Regions from separate parts of the Homo sapiens genome. Here regions 2, 3, 4 and 5 are each linked to region 1. The links are contacts of gene promoters, found by promoter capture Hi-C in blood cells and fetal thymus (Javierre and others, 2016). All regions are on one chromosome and are shown on one strand. Each heading gives the region's core, a stretch centred on a gene start or on the middle of the fragment in contact. The rest is flanking DNA. Distances are from core to core; before and after follow the strand shown.

Evidence for each region. The method cuts DNA at HindIII sites, captures the fragments that hold promoters and counts their contacts. A CHiCAGO score of 5 or more calls a contact.
Region 2: a fragment that was not itself captured here is called in contact with the fragment with the promoter of COXFA4L3 in region 1 in 2 of 17 cell types (M2 macrophages and monocytes); the score reaches 6.3 in M2 macrophages.
Region 3: a contact is called between a fragment that was not itself captured here and the fragment with the promoter of COXFA4L3 in region 1, in 1 of 17 cell types (M2 macrophages). The highest score is 5.2, in M2 macrophages.
Region 4: a contact is called between a fragment that was not itself captured here and the fragment with the promoter of COXFA4L3 in region 1, in 5 of 17 cell types (M2 macrophages, total B cells, monocytes and 2 more). The highest score is 6.8, in M2 macrophages.
Region 5: a contact is called between a fragment that was not itself captured here and the fragment with the promoter of COXFA4L3 in region 1, in 5 of 17 cell types (M2 macrophages, M1 macrophages, monocytes and 2 more). The highest score is 6.8, in M2 macrophages.

What each region holds. Positions count from the first base shown.
Region 1 is chr15:45,429,220-45,432,065 of GRCh38, reverse strand. It overlaps COXFA4L3 (cytochrome c oxidase associated subunit FA4L3), which reads right to left and starts at 1,456. Exons shown (of 5, transcript NM_197955.3): 1 at 1,411-1,456; 2 at 1,234-1,296; 3 at 980-1,065. The coding sequence starts at 1,269. RefSeq lists a silencer at 1,434-1,513. The HindIII fragment of the contact is 4,531 bases long and covers 673-2,846 here.
Region 2 is chr15:45,554,756-45,557,601 of GRCh38, reverse strand. It overlaps the pseudogene HMGN2P46. Among named protein-coding and RNA genes, the nearest start is that of SNORA41B, 19 kb to the right of the region's middle. The HindIII fragment of the contact is 4,930 bases long and covers 1-2,846 here.
Region 3 is chr15:45,326,747-45,329,592 of GRCh38, reverse strand. No RefSeq gene overlaps it. Among named protein-coding and RNA genes, the nearest start is that of SLC28A2-AS1, 49 kb to the right of the region's middle. RefSeq lists an enhancer at 2,401-2,846. The HindIII fragment of the contact is 1,369 bases long and covers 813-2,181 here.
Region 4 is chr15:45,525,880-45,528,725 of GRCh38, reverse strand. It overlaps the pseudogene HMGN2P46. Among named protein-coding and RNA genes, the nearest start is that of SLC30A4, 4.5 kb to the right of the region's middle. The HindIII fragment of the contact is 4,217 bases long and covers 1-2,846 here.
Region 5 is chr15:45,504,480-45,507,325 of GRCh38, reverse strand. The region is part of intron 3 of SLC30A4 (solute carrier family 30 member 4); the gene reads left to right. Among named protein-coding and RNA genes, the nearest start is that of SLC30A4, 17 kb to the left of the region's middle. The HindIII fragment of the contact is 758 bases long and covers 960-1,717 here.

The DNA.
Region 1 (2,846 bases), core at 207-2,706:
TTAAAGAAAGCCAATTAAACATTAAAAGATGTGAATTTAAACCAACACTGATACTGGGTTTATAAACATGTTAGGGACAAAACCAGTCTCATACTAAGGCATGTGTCTGCTAATGATCAGGAACCATCAGTAGCAACTAAAATTGATTGAAAATTCTCTAAGGGAGTTTCATGGTGTGGCTCAAACATTAAACATCAGTTCCCCTAAAGGGTAGGAGGTCTGTATTCTCTTGATTGGGCTGCATTGGGGAAGGATCCCACAAACCAAATAACCATGGGAGTGAAACTGCCAAGCCAAGGACATGCAATAATGTTCTTATCTCAGTCTGTGGGAGGGGCAGGTTGAACTCTGCAGGTGGTGAACTCCAGGGCTCTAGGCTCCTCTGCCAGCGGTTAGAGGACTGCCCTCTCCAGCCCTGCACCAGCCTCCAACAGTTTCAAGTTTATCTTTTCCTCATATTCCAGGATACATGTTTTTGTTTTTTACTTTCTTCTACCCAAAGTTGAGATTAGGTTCATCGTAGACAACTGAATCTATCAATTCTACCACATTAGTAAAAATCTAATAAGCTAAAATTTAAAATTTTAATTAAAATGATTGTTTCATGATATATATCTCCCAAAACCACTGAAGAACTTTAAATTTCAAAACTTAAAAAAAAAAAAACAAGCTTTACTTCACTGCCAGAGAGTGGAGAAGGGCCAATGGGTAAAAGAATAAACACAAGAAATAAACTAATTTGATTAATATCATGGGTTTTTTTAAATTTTTTCTTTTTTTTTTCTAATTTTCATTTTCTGACCCATTGGTAGACAATATCATAAGAGTTTTCTGATAAAAGATGCTTTTTAACCCTGACTCCCAGTTCACAATTTGGCATTCTCATCCATGGGAAAAAAATAGGAAACTTATACATTTCATAAACTAAAAGTCATCCAAACACTGCCAAAAACGTTTTTATAAATTGAGACCTACTTACATCACATCGGTTTTCCAAAGAGAATACACAGCGAAAGATGAGGCTCCACCCGCCGCCACAGTCATGAACACCACCAAGGGAATGAGCTAACAAATAACAGGTGGAGGGGACACATTTGGACACTTCAATATGAAACATTTGAAACACAGCAAAACAACTGTATTTATTTTATACTTTGTTCAAAATCTGTGCCATCTTTTCATCTTTAAAAATGAAAACTTTAGTCAAGATTTTCAATTGTTTTTAAAACTTACTTCCTTCCTTTTCATCAGGAGTTGGAAAAAGCTCATGATGACTTCAGCGAAGAATTGCCAAATCTAGAAATTAAAAATCCAAAGTATTGATCGCCTGGTGGGCGCCAAACCGTCCACCGCGCTCCGCAGGCCAACTGCGGGCCGGCGCGTCCGCGTCTCTGCAGATGGGAGACTCACCTGGACGCCGGGCGGTGCGCACGGACGATGGTAACGCCCGGAACCGAACGGGCCGGCGGCCTCCCCACCTTATATATAGCGACCACAACCGCCCCGGGTGGGCCGGGCCAGCGCGCTCTGGTCACGCGCGTGGGGCGGGGAGCGCGAGGGACCTGACTCGCTTTCCCCGTTGGGCACGCGACTCCCGGGCGCCCCCTGCAGGACATTCTGCGGCTGACGTGAAGCGCCCGAACGCGGGCGCTGGCGCCCCCTGCCGCTCGCCGCGGTCTTCCTTACCTGCCGACCCCGGTCGCTCTTGGCCCCCCTAGGTGCTTGTGAGGAGTTTGGAGGTTTGGGGAGTAGGAGGTGGAACCCCCTAAGAGGGGAGCGCAGATAGCCGAGGCCTGAGGGAAAGCCAACCCTTCTAAAAGGGTATCCGGGCCTGGCGCGGTGGCTTAGGACTGTAATCCCAACACTTTGGGAGGCTGAGGCAGGAGGATCACTCGAGTCCAGCCTGGCCAACGTGACGAAACCACGTCTCTACTAAAAAAAATTAGCGGGCGTGGTGCTGCATGCCTGCAGTCCCAGCTACTGAGGAGGGCGAGGCAGGAGAATCGCTTGAGTCCAGGCCTTTGAGGTCGCAGTGAGCCAAGATTACACCACTGTATTCCAGCCTGGGCAACAGAGCGAGACCCTGTTTTAAATAAAATAGAATAAAACAAAATATTTAAATAAGCAAATAAACAATAAAAGGGGGTCCGGAAAAATGAGCTGCAGACCGGAGGGTCCCAGGAGAGGCTCCCAGGTGCAGGCGGGTAAATTAGAATTAATCCAATCACATTAAAAGCTCCAAAATGTGGTCTGTGCACCTATGGAGATCATTAAAATTAAATTGTAAAGTTTATTTCAGAATAACTCCCAGGGCGTCCTGACTTTTTCTGCTAAAAAAAAAACCCAAAAAAACAAAAACAAACAAATAAACACAATAAAACAAAAACCCGAGGTCGAGGGAGAACAAACAAAAGAATAAGCTGGGGAGGCTGTCAGGAGAAGGTCTTTCTGCAAACGACCCTGCCGGCTGGTTTAGTCTTTGGGTTCCCTCCTAACTCTCCTCTAAGCCAGCAACCTCACTTTGCAGTTTGCAGGCGGCTGCAATGGTAACAATTTCACAGAGCCAGGGGCTGTGTGTGTGCCAGACACTGAGCCAGATTCCCCTCGGCAAGGTGGGTGCAAAGTCTTATTAAGACTCAGAGAGGCTCTGGTCACGTCACTGGTAAGTGGCGGCGATGCCATCAGAACGCAGGTCTGTCTGGTGCCCAACACCATGGTTCTGTCTGCACCCCTCTGTTAAATACTGCAATAAGTAAAGGACCAGTTATTTTAAAACAAACAGTTTGAAGTTCAAGCTGTAAGTTAAAGTTAAAAGGCAACATCTTAACGTTCCCTGAAATTGGCTA
Region 2 (2,846 bases), core at 204-2,703, 130 kb before region 1:
TTTCTTTAAGATTTCTTCATAAAACAAAAATACTCCTGAGCATGCAGCTTCTATCAGCTACATTTTAGTTACCAGTTGAGCCAGTATGTGAAAGCCAACTCCTGTAGGAAATACAGTGTGATGGTCAGCTTTATGTGTCAATTTATCTAGACTACAGTCCCCTGTTATTCAATCAAACACTAATTAAGGTGTTTCAATGAAGGTAATTTGTTGATGTGAATTAAATCCATAATCAGTTGACTTTATATAAGAGAGATTATTCTAAATAATCTGAGTGGGCCTGATTCAATCAGTTGAAAGTTTTTAATTGCAGAACTAAGGCTTCTCTGCAGAAGAAGAAATTTATCTGTAGTTAACAGCTTCAGCTGGTGTCTAAGAGACCAGGCCTGCTCTTCTAGGGTGTCTTGCCAGCTGCCACCATCACATAAGCCAATTCTGTGCAAAAACTCTCTTAATGTATACTTCTGGCTGGTTTTGTTTGTCTGGTTGAACCCTGAGGGTTGGAGGTTCAGCATAAGGAGGCTTGCACGGAGGAATAAAGGAAGAGAATCAGGCAGCAAAAGGAGTGCTGGTAGGGGAGTTGATTCGATAATTTTGCCCAAGGCAGGTATTATTTGGGGGGGCGGGGGAAAGAAGGGCAAAAAAGACAGGAGCCAGAGGAGACCAAGAATTCAAGAATGAAGGTGGAAAAGGTGAGGAGACTGGCTATCCCACAGACTCACTCTTCTTCAGCAACTTCAGTTGTTGGCAGTGCAGGAGTGAGGGAAAGGAGGATTGACTTTCAAATGGGATCTATCTGCAGACTGCTTGAAAGTTATTCTTCAGACAGCACAAGCTCACTTTGCCTTCTTTGTGCATTTCTTTTTTTTTTCCCAAGCCAAACTGTATCCAGCTTTATTAAAGATAATTTCCATAAAGAATCATGGTATTTTGGGCAGGACATGGGCAGACAATCGTTAACAGTATACAACAACTTTCAAACTCCCTTCTTCAATGGACTACCAAAAATCAGAAAGCCACTGTAAAACCCAATGAAGTCTTCATCTGATGCTCTGAACCGGCAAAGTTTAGTGAGGGTTGACATTTCACATTTAGCATGCTGTTTCATAGCTTTTCATGAACCGACCCTGGCTTTCAGGAAGTGAAAGGAAAATGACAGAATTTATCTGAAGATCCACAACCTAGAAACAGGAACCACTGCTCTTTTGAGGGCAAAGTCCAGATTGCCTGACACACTGGTAACCAATTATTGGGGGTCAGGTCCCAGAAGATGTCTGGGTTTAAGGGATTTAAGTCCATTCTGAAAGGTAGAAACAGAGAAGAGGACATAAAAAACGAATTTGTTTTTCCATACCACAAGGCTTTTATACCAAGGTGGCCATGTGTATCAAAGTCAGGGAATCCCTCTTCCTGGGACCCAAGAGGAAGTCTCTCAAAACCAGAAGGAAAAGGTGTTTTCCCCACATCAGTCCAGCTTCAGGGGCTTTCTATTAGTGACATATGGCCCTTCTCCCCAAAACAACAATGAAGTATTCTGTGTACTAACATAGCTTAAAAAAAAAAAAAAAAGCTAAACAAAATCTGCATTTTTATAAAACTTGATTAAAAAATAGTATTTCAAACTGTACAGTCACCAGAAGTACACAGTTATCAAAAATGCACACACTTCACTTGGCATCTCCAGCACCTTTAGCTTTCTGTGCCTAGTCTGTTTTGGCATCTCCATTTTCTGCAGGGTTATTCCCCTCCTTGCCAGCATCAGCTTTTCCCTTCTTCTCTGTAGGTACCTTCTCTCTCTTCTTTGCAGAGGCCTTTCTGGGCTTCGGCTGTGGCTTTGGAGGAGCAGGTTTAGCAGACAACCTTGTGGATCTTCTCTGCAGTTCCTACTTAACCTTGGTTTTATCTCCTTTAGCATCCCCTTCAGCCTTTCTCTCGGGCAGGGTGGCAGCGACAGTGGTGGGACATAGGCACTGGGCAGTGGAGCACGGGCTTTGGTCGGTCTAGGGGTCATCGCCTCTTCTTCTTCACACTGCTCTGCTTTGTGCATTTCTATTCTTTTTTGTAGCCAGAGAAGTAAATGCATATCTTTGCAACTAACACTTCCAGACTCATCTGCAAAATCAAGTGCACTAAATAAATAAATAAACAAATAATCAATCATGGGTCCTTTTTAGATAGTGTTTCCCCCCAAATACCATGAATAATTTCAGTAAATTTTTGATAAATACTAGTAGGTATTGTAAATTAAATGTGTATTTTAATAACTCAGATGCAAGAAGATCTAAAGCTGGAATAAATTAGATGTTTGGATAAATATACACTTAGGTCAGCTAATAAAAAGATGGCAATGTATGTGAGCTTTAAAAGGAAGAAGATGGCCCTTGACTCTGGTACAGCCTTCAAGGGACTAGCAGAAGTCAAGTGCATGGGCTTGACAAAAACCAGAAATAAGCAAAACATTAGAGATCCAAAACTTGGCAAACCTATAATTGTAAGTTGAAAATAACCTGCAATTAGATGAGAAATGTAAAAAACAGGCTAAAATTTTTCATATACAAATTAAATAAAAAGAAATAAGTTGAGAAAAATTTGAAAATCTTTGTGGTAAAAATTTCTTCTGAAAGCAACAAACTATAATATACACCATAAATGGATAAATCTCAAAAACATGCTGAGAGAAAGAAGTCCACACTAAAAAGTGTACACTGTGTGATTCCTTTTATATAATGGTGTAAAACAGGTTAAAACTCATTTGCAGTGGAAACTAATCAAAACAATGGCTAGCTCTGGGGGAATGGGGATGCAGAAAGGGATTGACTGGCACGGGTAAGAAGGAACTTTCTAGG
Region 3 (2,846 bases), core at 248-2,747, 100 kb after region 1:
AGCTGGGACTACAGGCATGCGCTAGCATTCCTGGCTAACTTTTGTATATTTTGTAGACATGGGTTTTTGCCCTGTTGCTCAGGCTGGTAGAATTGTTTTAAAATCATTTCAGACACAGCATTTAGTATCACTGTGGATCCAGTACTTTGAAGTTAAGTTAGTTATCAGTACTTTGAAGGAATAAATTTTGGGTAGGTGTAGGAGGAAAGAATACATTTCATAAAATGTCACAGTGAATCTTACAACTCACCTTTCACTGGTAGGACTTTTAAGTATACTGTTAAAAACCTTTAACGCGGCCAGGCACAGTGGCTCACGCCTGTAATCCCAGCACTTTGGGAGGCCGAGGCGGGCCGATCACAAGGTCAAGAGATTGAGACCATCCTGGCCAACATGGTGAAACCCCATCTCTGCTAAAAATACAAAAATTAGCTGGGCGTGGTGGCACATGCCTGTAGTCCCAGCTACTAGGGAGGCTGAGGCAGGAGAATCGCTTGAACCCAGGAGGCAGAGGTTGCAGTGAGCCGAGATCACACCACTGCACTCCAGCCTGGCGACAGAGTCTCAAAAACAAAAGAAAACAAAAACAAAAACAAAAACAAAAAAAACCCTTTAATGCACAGTTATGGGAATTACCAGAGAGTGAGAGAAGCAGTGAGCTCACCCAACAAGGGTGGCATTGTAGGTCTGATCTTTATCAAGTGATCCTAGAAGAACAAGTTTGAATGGAAGAGTCTGGCATCATTGTTCTCCTTCTGCTTGTTGCTATTTGCATTCCTTTGTTGAGCTGATGTCTTCCTGTGTCGTAAGCTTTTCATCAGGTGTATGTGGAACACTTTAGTTTCATGGTCAAGACAGAATCAGAAGCCCTGGATACAGACAGCTGATGTGTCTGTTCTCTTCTTTTTTCATAACTATGTCTACTTCCTTATCTAGATTAAAATCAAAACCTGAAAAACTGACTACAATAAGTGTTTTGTGGTTTATCTATAAATATGATAGAAAATATGGCTGTTATTTTTGGTCAGAAATACCAATTTTGTACAGCTTATTTCAACCTAAATAAAATGTGAACTTAAAAACATTTTTGTTTTAAAAAACATTTCTTTATTGACTTCTACTACCAGAGTCGCTGTTGAGAAGTCAGATACCATTCCGATTCTTTATCCTTTCCAGTGATTTTATTTTCCTCTCTGTTAGGTCCTTTCTGTCTCCAATGTTCTGAAATTTAATAATAATGTGCTTTGGTGTGTATCTTTATTTTGCCTGTTATGCTGGGTTCTCAATGGGTCCCTTGAAATTGGGAATTCATGCCCTTCATTTCTTTGTAATATTGTTGAATTATTTCTTTTGTCTTTTATTTCTCTGAAAGAGTTTAGTTATTGTCTAAAGACTTAGAATCAATAGAAAGAAATATCTGGGTTAAGATAAGGGGTTGTGGAGACCAAGGCTTTATCATGTAGGTGAAGCCTCCAGGTAGCAGGCTTCAGAGAGAATAGATTGTAAATGTTTCTTATCAGACTTAAAGAGTCCATTCTATCAGTAATTCCAAAAGGGAGGAGGGTAGGATGAGGCATGTTCAACACCCATTTCCCATTATGGCCGGAATAGTTTCTCAGGTCAACTTTGGAATGCCCTTGGCCAAGAAGAGGGGTCCATTCAGATGGTTGAGGGGGCTTAGAGTTTTATTTTTGGTTTACAGTAGGTTGCCAGGCACATCCATTTAAACTGCTCTGGTACGGAAGTGATTTCTCGGCCAGGCATGGTGGCTCACGCCTGTAATCCCTGCACTTTGGGAGGCCAAGGCAGGCGGATCACAAGGTCAGGAGTTCAAGATCAGCCTGGCCAACATGGCCATCTCTGCTAAAAATACAAAACTTAGCCGGGCGTGGTGGTGCATGCCTGTAATCAGCTACTTGGGAGGCTGAGGCAGGAGAATTGCTTGAACCCAGGAGGCGGAGGTTGCAGTGAGCCGAGATTGCACCACTGCACCCCAGCCTGGGCAACAGAGTGAGACTCCATCTCAAAAAAAAAAAAAAAAAAAAAAGAAGTGAAGAAATGATTTCTTTTTTTGTTGCTATCCCTACTTTTATACCTAAATTTTGGCCAACTAATGTATACTGAAAATATAAATAGAGCATACAGGTTCCAATGATGAGTTACTTTGTTGATAAAGAAGCTTGTGGGTGAAGTGTTAGCAAAACCTTTTCTCTCCTACATGAAAATTTGACTTTTGGTTAACTTTCTACATCTTTTCCACTGGCAACCTAATAAGGACTGTGATACTGTGATATAGTAAGAAATACATATTGGGTCTTCAGGCCCCCAGTTTCTGGTACAGAGATTCTAAAATTCTGGTAACTTCCCGAGTGATAGGAGTGACAGGAGCGTCTTTTGTTAAAATCGCTGGTTTTTATCCCTGGTTCCAGGCGCAGAGCTTCTAAAAACTCTTTGAATTTTCTGAGCAATCGAGGTGACAGGAGCATCTTTTGTTATTTTCAACAAGCTCTTTTCGAGTGTACATGAATTATGTTAATTAGATGACTGGTGGCTGGAAGCCCATAGATAGCTTCAGGATGGGCACTGGTTGCCAGAGGAACCAAACATGTGATTATAGAGGATTGGAACTTTCAGCCCTACTCACCCCGAGGGAGGGAGAGAAAAGCTGGATTGAGTAAATCACCAATGGCCCATGATTTAAGCAATCACGCCTATGTAATAGAACCTCCATAAAAACCCTAAACAAAGGGCTTCAGAGAGCTTCTGAGTTGGAAAACACATCGAGCGGCTGATGAAGCCATCCCCACAGGGTTGACAAGGATTTCATGCTGAGTTCTGGGCAGAAA
Region 4 (2,846 bases), core at 115-2,614, 97 kb before region 1:
GCGTGGCGGCGTGCGCTTGTAGTCCCAGCTGCTGGGGAGGCTGAGGCAGGAGAATGGCGTGAACCCAGGAGGCGGAGCTTGCAGTGAGCTGAGATCGCGCCACTGCACTCCAGCCTGGGCAACAGAGTGAGACTCGGTCTCAAAAAAAAAACGCTGGATAAATAGGAGTTTGCCCTACAATTCAACTCAAGTAGAAGCTAGGGGCTGGACCTTTAAGATGAGCTCTCCTGACAATGTTGTTGTTTTTAACCTAATTTGAGTCAATCCAATTTGAGAATACGATGAAAGCTAAAAGACTTATCCCAGAAAATATACATGTCCTCAAAATTTTGCACATAAGTTTAAGGCCTCCCAAACTCCCTAAAACCCACTCAGAAAATCTAGATTAAGAATCTCTAAAACAGCCAGGTGTGGTAGCTCATGCCTGTAATCCCAGCACTTTGGGAGGCTGAAGTGGGTGGATCACTTGAGGCCAGGAGTTTGAGATCTGCCTGGCCAACATAGTGAAACCTCGTCTCTACTAAAAATAGAACAATTAGGCTGGGCGCGGTGGCTCACGCCTGTAATCCCAACACGTTGGGAGGCCGAGGCAGGTGGATCACCTGAGGTCAGGAGTTCGAGACCAGCCTGGCCAATATGAGGAAACACAGTCTCTACTAAAAATACAAAAAATTAACTGGGGGTGGTGGCAGGTGCCTGTAATCTCAGGTACCCAGGAGGCTGAGGCAGGAGAATTGCTTGAACCCTGGAGGCGGAGATTGCAGTGAGCAGAGATCGTACCACTGCACTCCAGCCTGGGCAACAAGAGCAAAACTCCATCTCAAAAAATAATAATAATAATAAATAATAACAATAAAAATAGAAAAATTAGCCAGGCATGGTGGTGCTTGTGTGTAATCACAGTTACTCGGGTGGCTGAGGCATGAGAATTGTTTGAACCAGGTAGGCAGAGGTTGCAGTGAGCCGAGATCACACTACTGCACTCCAGCCTGAGTGACAGAGCAAGACCCTGTCTCAAAGAAAAAAAAAAAACAAAACTGTAAGATTTTGCTAGGGGTGCATATTGCCATTCCATTGTGATATTATAATTTAGGTTTAAATCAGAAGCTACTACAGAATTTAAATATTGGCTGGGCATGGTGGCTCACACCTGTAATCCCAGCACTTACAGGAGGTTGAGGCAGGAGGATCACTTAAGCCCAGGAGTTCAAGGCCTGCCTGGGCAACATGGCAAAAAACCATCTCTACAAGGAAAAAAATACAAAAATTAGCCGGGCATGATGACAAGCACCTATGGTCCCAGCTAGTCAAAAGGCTGAGGCAGGAGGATAGATTAAGCCCAGGAGGTCAAGGCTGCAGTGAGCCGAGATCGCACCGCTGCGCTCCAGCCTTGGCAACAGAACGAGACCCTGTCTCAAAAAAACAAAAAACAAAAAAGCCACAATTATTTCTTCTTCCTCTTTTTTTGGTTTTGTTTTGTTTTGATTTTTAAAGATGGGGTCTCCCTCTATTACCCAGGCTGGAGTACACTGGCACAATCATAGCTCACTGCAACCGCCAATTCCTTGGAGGCTTTAAAAAAATTTTTTGGAGAGACGGGGTCTCAATATGTTGCCCATGCTGGTCTTAAACTTCTGACCTCAAGAGATCCTCTCCCCTTGGCTTCCCAAAGTGTTGAGATTACAGGTATGAGCTACTGCATCTGGCTGTTTTTTGTTTTTTTTGTGAAACAGACCCAATAGCCAAAAGGACACCTCTATAGGCACACCTTGTTTTATTGTGCTTCACTTTCTCGCACTTGTTAGATATTGCCAGTTTTGCAAATTGAAGGTTTATGGCAACCCTGTGTCAAGCAAATCTGTCGCCGTCATTTTTCCAATAGCCTGGGCTCACTTCATGTCTCTGTGTCACCTTTTGGTAATTCTCTTAATATTTCAAACCTTGTCATTATTATTATATCTGATATACTGATCTGTGATCAGTGATCTTTGATATTACTATTGTAATTATTTGGGGACATCACGAACCTTGTCCATATAAGATGACAAACTTAACTGATAAATGTTGTATATGTTTTGACTGCTCCATTGACCAGCCGTCCCCCTTCACTCTCCCTCTCCTTGGCCCTCCCTATTACGAGACACAATATTAAAATTGGGCCAGTTAATAACCCTACAATGACCTCTAAGTGTTTAAGTGAAAGGAAGAGTTGTATATCTCTCACTTTAAATCAAAAGCTAGAAATTATTAACCATAGTGAGAAAGGCATATGGAAAGCTGAGATAAGGATGGGCATGGTGGCTCACGCCTATAATCCTAACACTCTGGGAGGCTGAGGTGGGAGAATTGCCTGAGCCTGAGCAGTAGAGGTTTCAGTGAGCCATGATTGTGCCTGTGCACTCCAAAAAAAGGAAAGAAGGAAGGAAGGACGAAAAGAAGGAAGGAAGAAAGGAAGGAAGGAAGGAGGGAGGGAGGCAGGCAAGGAAGGAAGGAAGGGGAAAGGAGGAGGGAAGGGGAAGGAAGGAAGGGGAAAGGAGGGGGGAAGGGGAAGGAAGGAAGGGGAAAGGAGGGGGGAAGGGGAAGGAAGGAAGGGGAAAGGAGGGGGGAAGGGAAGGGAGGGAAGGGAAGGAAGGAAAGAAAAAAGAAAGAAAGCTGAGATAGGCTGAAAGCTATGCCTCTTCTTTTTTTTTTTTTTTTTTTGAGACGGAGTCTTGCTCTGTCGTCTAGGCTGGAGTGTAATGGTGCGAGGCTCACTGCAACCTCCGCTTCCCAGCTTCAAGCGATTCTCCTGCCTCAGCCTCCCAAGCAGCTGGGAGCTACTCGGCACATGCCACCACACCCAGCTA
Region 5 (2,846 bases), core at 89-2,588, 75 kb before region 1:
ATTTTTGAGACAGAGTCTCACTGTGTCACCCAGGCTGGAGTGCAATGGCGCGGTCTCGGCTTACTGCAACCTCCACTTCCCAGGTTCAAGTGATTCTCCTGCCTCAGCCTCCAGAGTAGCTGGGATTACAGGGGCCCGCCGCCACTCATGGCTAATTTTTGTATTTTTAGTAGAGACGGGATTTCACCATGTTGGCCAGGATGATCTGGATCTCCCGTCCTCGTGATCCACCCGCCTCGGCCTCCCAAAGTGCTGGGTTTATAGGCATGAGCCACCGCCCCCAGCCAAGCCTTACTATTAAGAACCTCAGAAAAATAGAACTTAAAAAATAAAAAGAAGTAACCACTTAATGCATATGGTATTTCTTTTTGAGGTGTTGAACATGTTCTGGAATTAGTAGTGATGATGGCTGCACAACCTTGTACATGTACTGAAAACCACTGAATTGTACACTTTAAAATGGTGAATTTTGTTACATGAATTTTATGTCAATTTTTAAAAGTCATCTAAAAAAATGAAAGGGAGGGAATTGTTAAAGATATAGATAGATAGGTATTTCCTGAGCTAAGAAGGTACTCAAGCTTCACACTGAAACTTTTGGGATCTTCTTTTTTTTGTTGTTTTGTATTCTGAAATATTATGAGGGGATATCTAGATATAGACCTTATTTCACTTATTCTGCTCTATGAAATAATGGTGGAAATTTGGAAGAAAAAACTTAGTTTGCTTGAGGAAGATTCAAAGATACATAGAATTTGATGAATAAAGCTGTAAACCAAAGCAGTTGGTGTCCCTGAGTTCCACAGTACCATTGCTTCAGAGTAATCTCTTGAAGTTCTATGGGGAGAGATATATTTACATTTGGACACACTTAAGTAGGGTAGCTCTTGTGATCTCTAATTCCAGACTTGGAGATTCAGGTCCTGAAAACTTCACAGAGGGAATCCCCACAAGAAGCTTGGTTTGTTACCATTCTTGTTGAATTTTGTTTTGTTTTGATGACATGGTGGGGTGGGACAGGGATGGGTTTTTTCTCTGTTGATTTATTTTGTAAATATGCAAAACATGTTGCAAAAGTCAAATTTTATTTTATTAATTTATTTATTTGAGAGTGGGTCTCACTCCGTTGTCCAGGCTGGAGTGCAGTGGCGTGATCTCAGCCCCCTGCATCCTTGACCTCCTAGGCTCAAGCAATCCTCCCACCTCAGCCTCTCGAGTAGCTGGGACTGGGACTGGGACCACAGGCATGCACCACCATGCCTGGCTAACTTTTGTATTTTTTGTAGAGACGAGGCTTTGTTTCCCAGGCTGGTTGCAAACTCTGCAGCCTGTTTCCCAGGCTGGTTTTGAACTCTTGAGATCAAGTGATCCACCCGCCTCGGCCTCCCAAAGTGCTGGGATTACAGAGATAAGCCATCATGCCTGGCCAAAAATTATTTTTTAAAAGAAAACACAGAGAAGTCTTGCTTTCATTCCCCTCCACTCCATCTCCCCATACCATTCCATAAGAGTAGACCCTTTTAATTGGTTTCTAGCCTATCCTTCCAGCACTTCCTTTTGAAAACATAAGCAAATACATATATATGTTCATATCCTGCTTCTCACCACCCTTTTTTATGCAATAGGCAGTATACTGTATACTCAACTCTAGACCTGGAGGCAGTGATTCTATATAGAGTTCCACCTCCAGATCACTTTATAACAGTACATAGAAGCTTCTGGTTTGAAAATGTCAGAGCTTAAAGGAGGAGAACAACCACTTAACTATTCAGATAGAAGTAATATTCCCTTGCTCCTTTTGAATAAAAATTGAAAACAGGATATTGTCTTGGGATTCTGCATGAGGAAGCAGAAAATTAGATTTCCTGGGAATTTCTTCTACACTGAAGAATGAAATTTTACACTCTATCTGACAATAGTAAATATCAAACCATAGCTTAGCTGTAATTGCCATTTTAGTTGTTATATGGATGTGTTTCTGCTTTAAAAGATCACATTCTCTGTAGGCTTTAGATTGGTTTATATTTATTTATGGACTATTGATTGTAGCCTTTTTTTTTCTTTTCTTTCTTTTTTTTTTTTTTTTTAATTTTTGAGATGGAGTTTTGCTCTTGTTGCCCACGCTGGAGTGCAATGGCGCAATCTTGGCTCATTGCAACCTCCACCTCCCGGATTCAAGCGATTCTTCTGCCTTAGCTTCCCAAGTAGCTGGGATTATAGACGTGTGCCACCATTCCCAGCTGATTTTTGTATTTTTAGTAGAGATGGGGTTTCACCACGTTGGCCAGGCTAGTCTCGAACTCCCGACCTCATGTGATCCTCCCACCGCAGCCTCCCAAAGTGCTGGGATTACAGGCGTGAGCCACCATACCCGGTTGATTGTAGACTTTTGATTGGTATTTACAAGGACCCATGAGAGGCAACAAAGAGAAGTTGTCAAGAGAACAGACCCTGAGACCAATAGTTTGGCTCAAGCTCTGGCTCCCTAACTTCCTACCAGTTTGACCTTGGGCAAGTTACCTAACATCTTTGTGCCTCCATTTTCTATTTGTAAAAGGAAACTAATAGTAGTGCCTACTTTATAATAGAGTTATTACAAATATTAAATGAGTTAATATTTGTAAAGTAATTAGAAAAATGCCTGGCACTTCAAAAGCAGCCTTCATTTATTCTTTGGAAATAATTTTAAATGAATTCAAGGTTTATATGTAGCTTTTAGGCATATATACATAAATGTCACTGTAAACTGCAGAATATCCGATCTTTAAAATTTTTTGGTTAAATTTTATCATAATATGGTAACAAATCACATTTATTGCTTTTAGGTGTTAGCGATAAAACAGAGT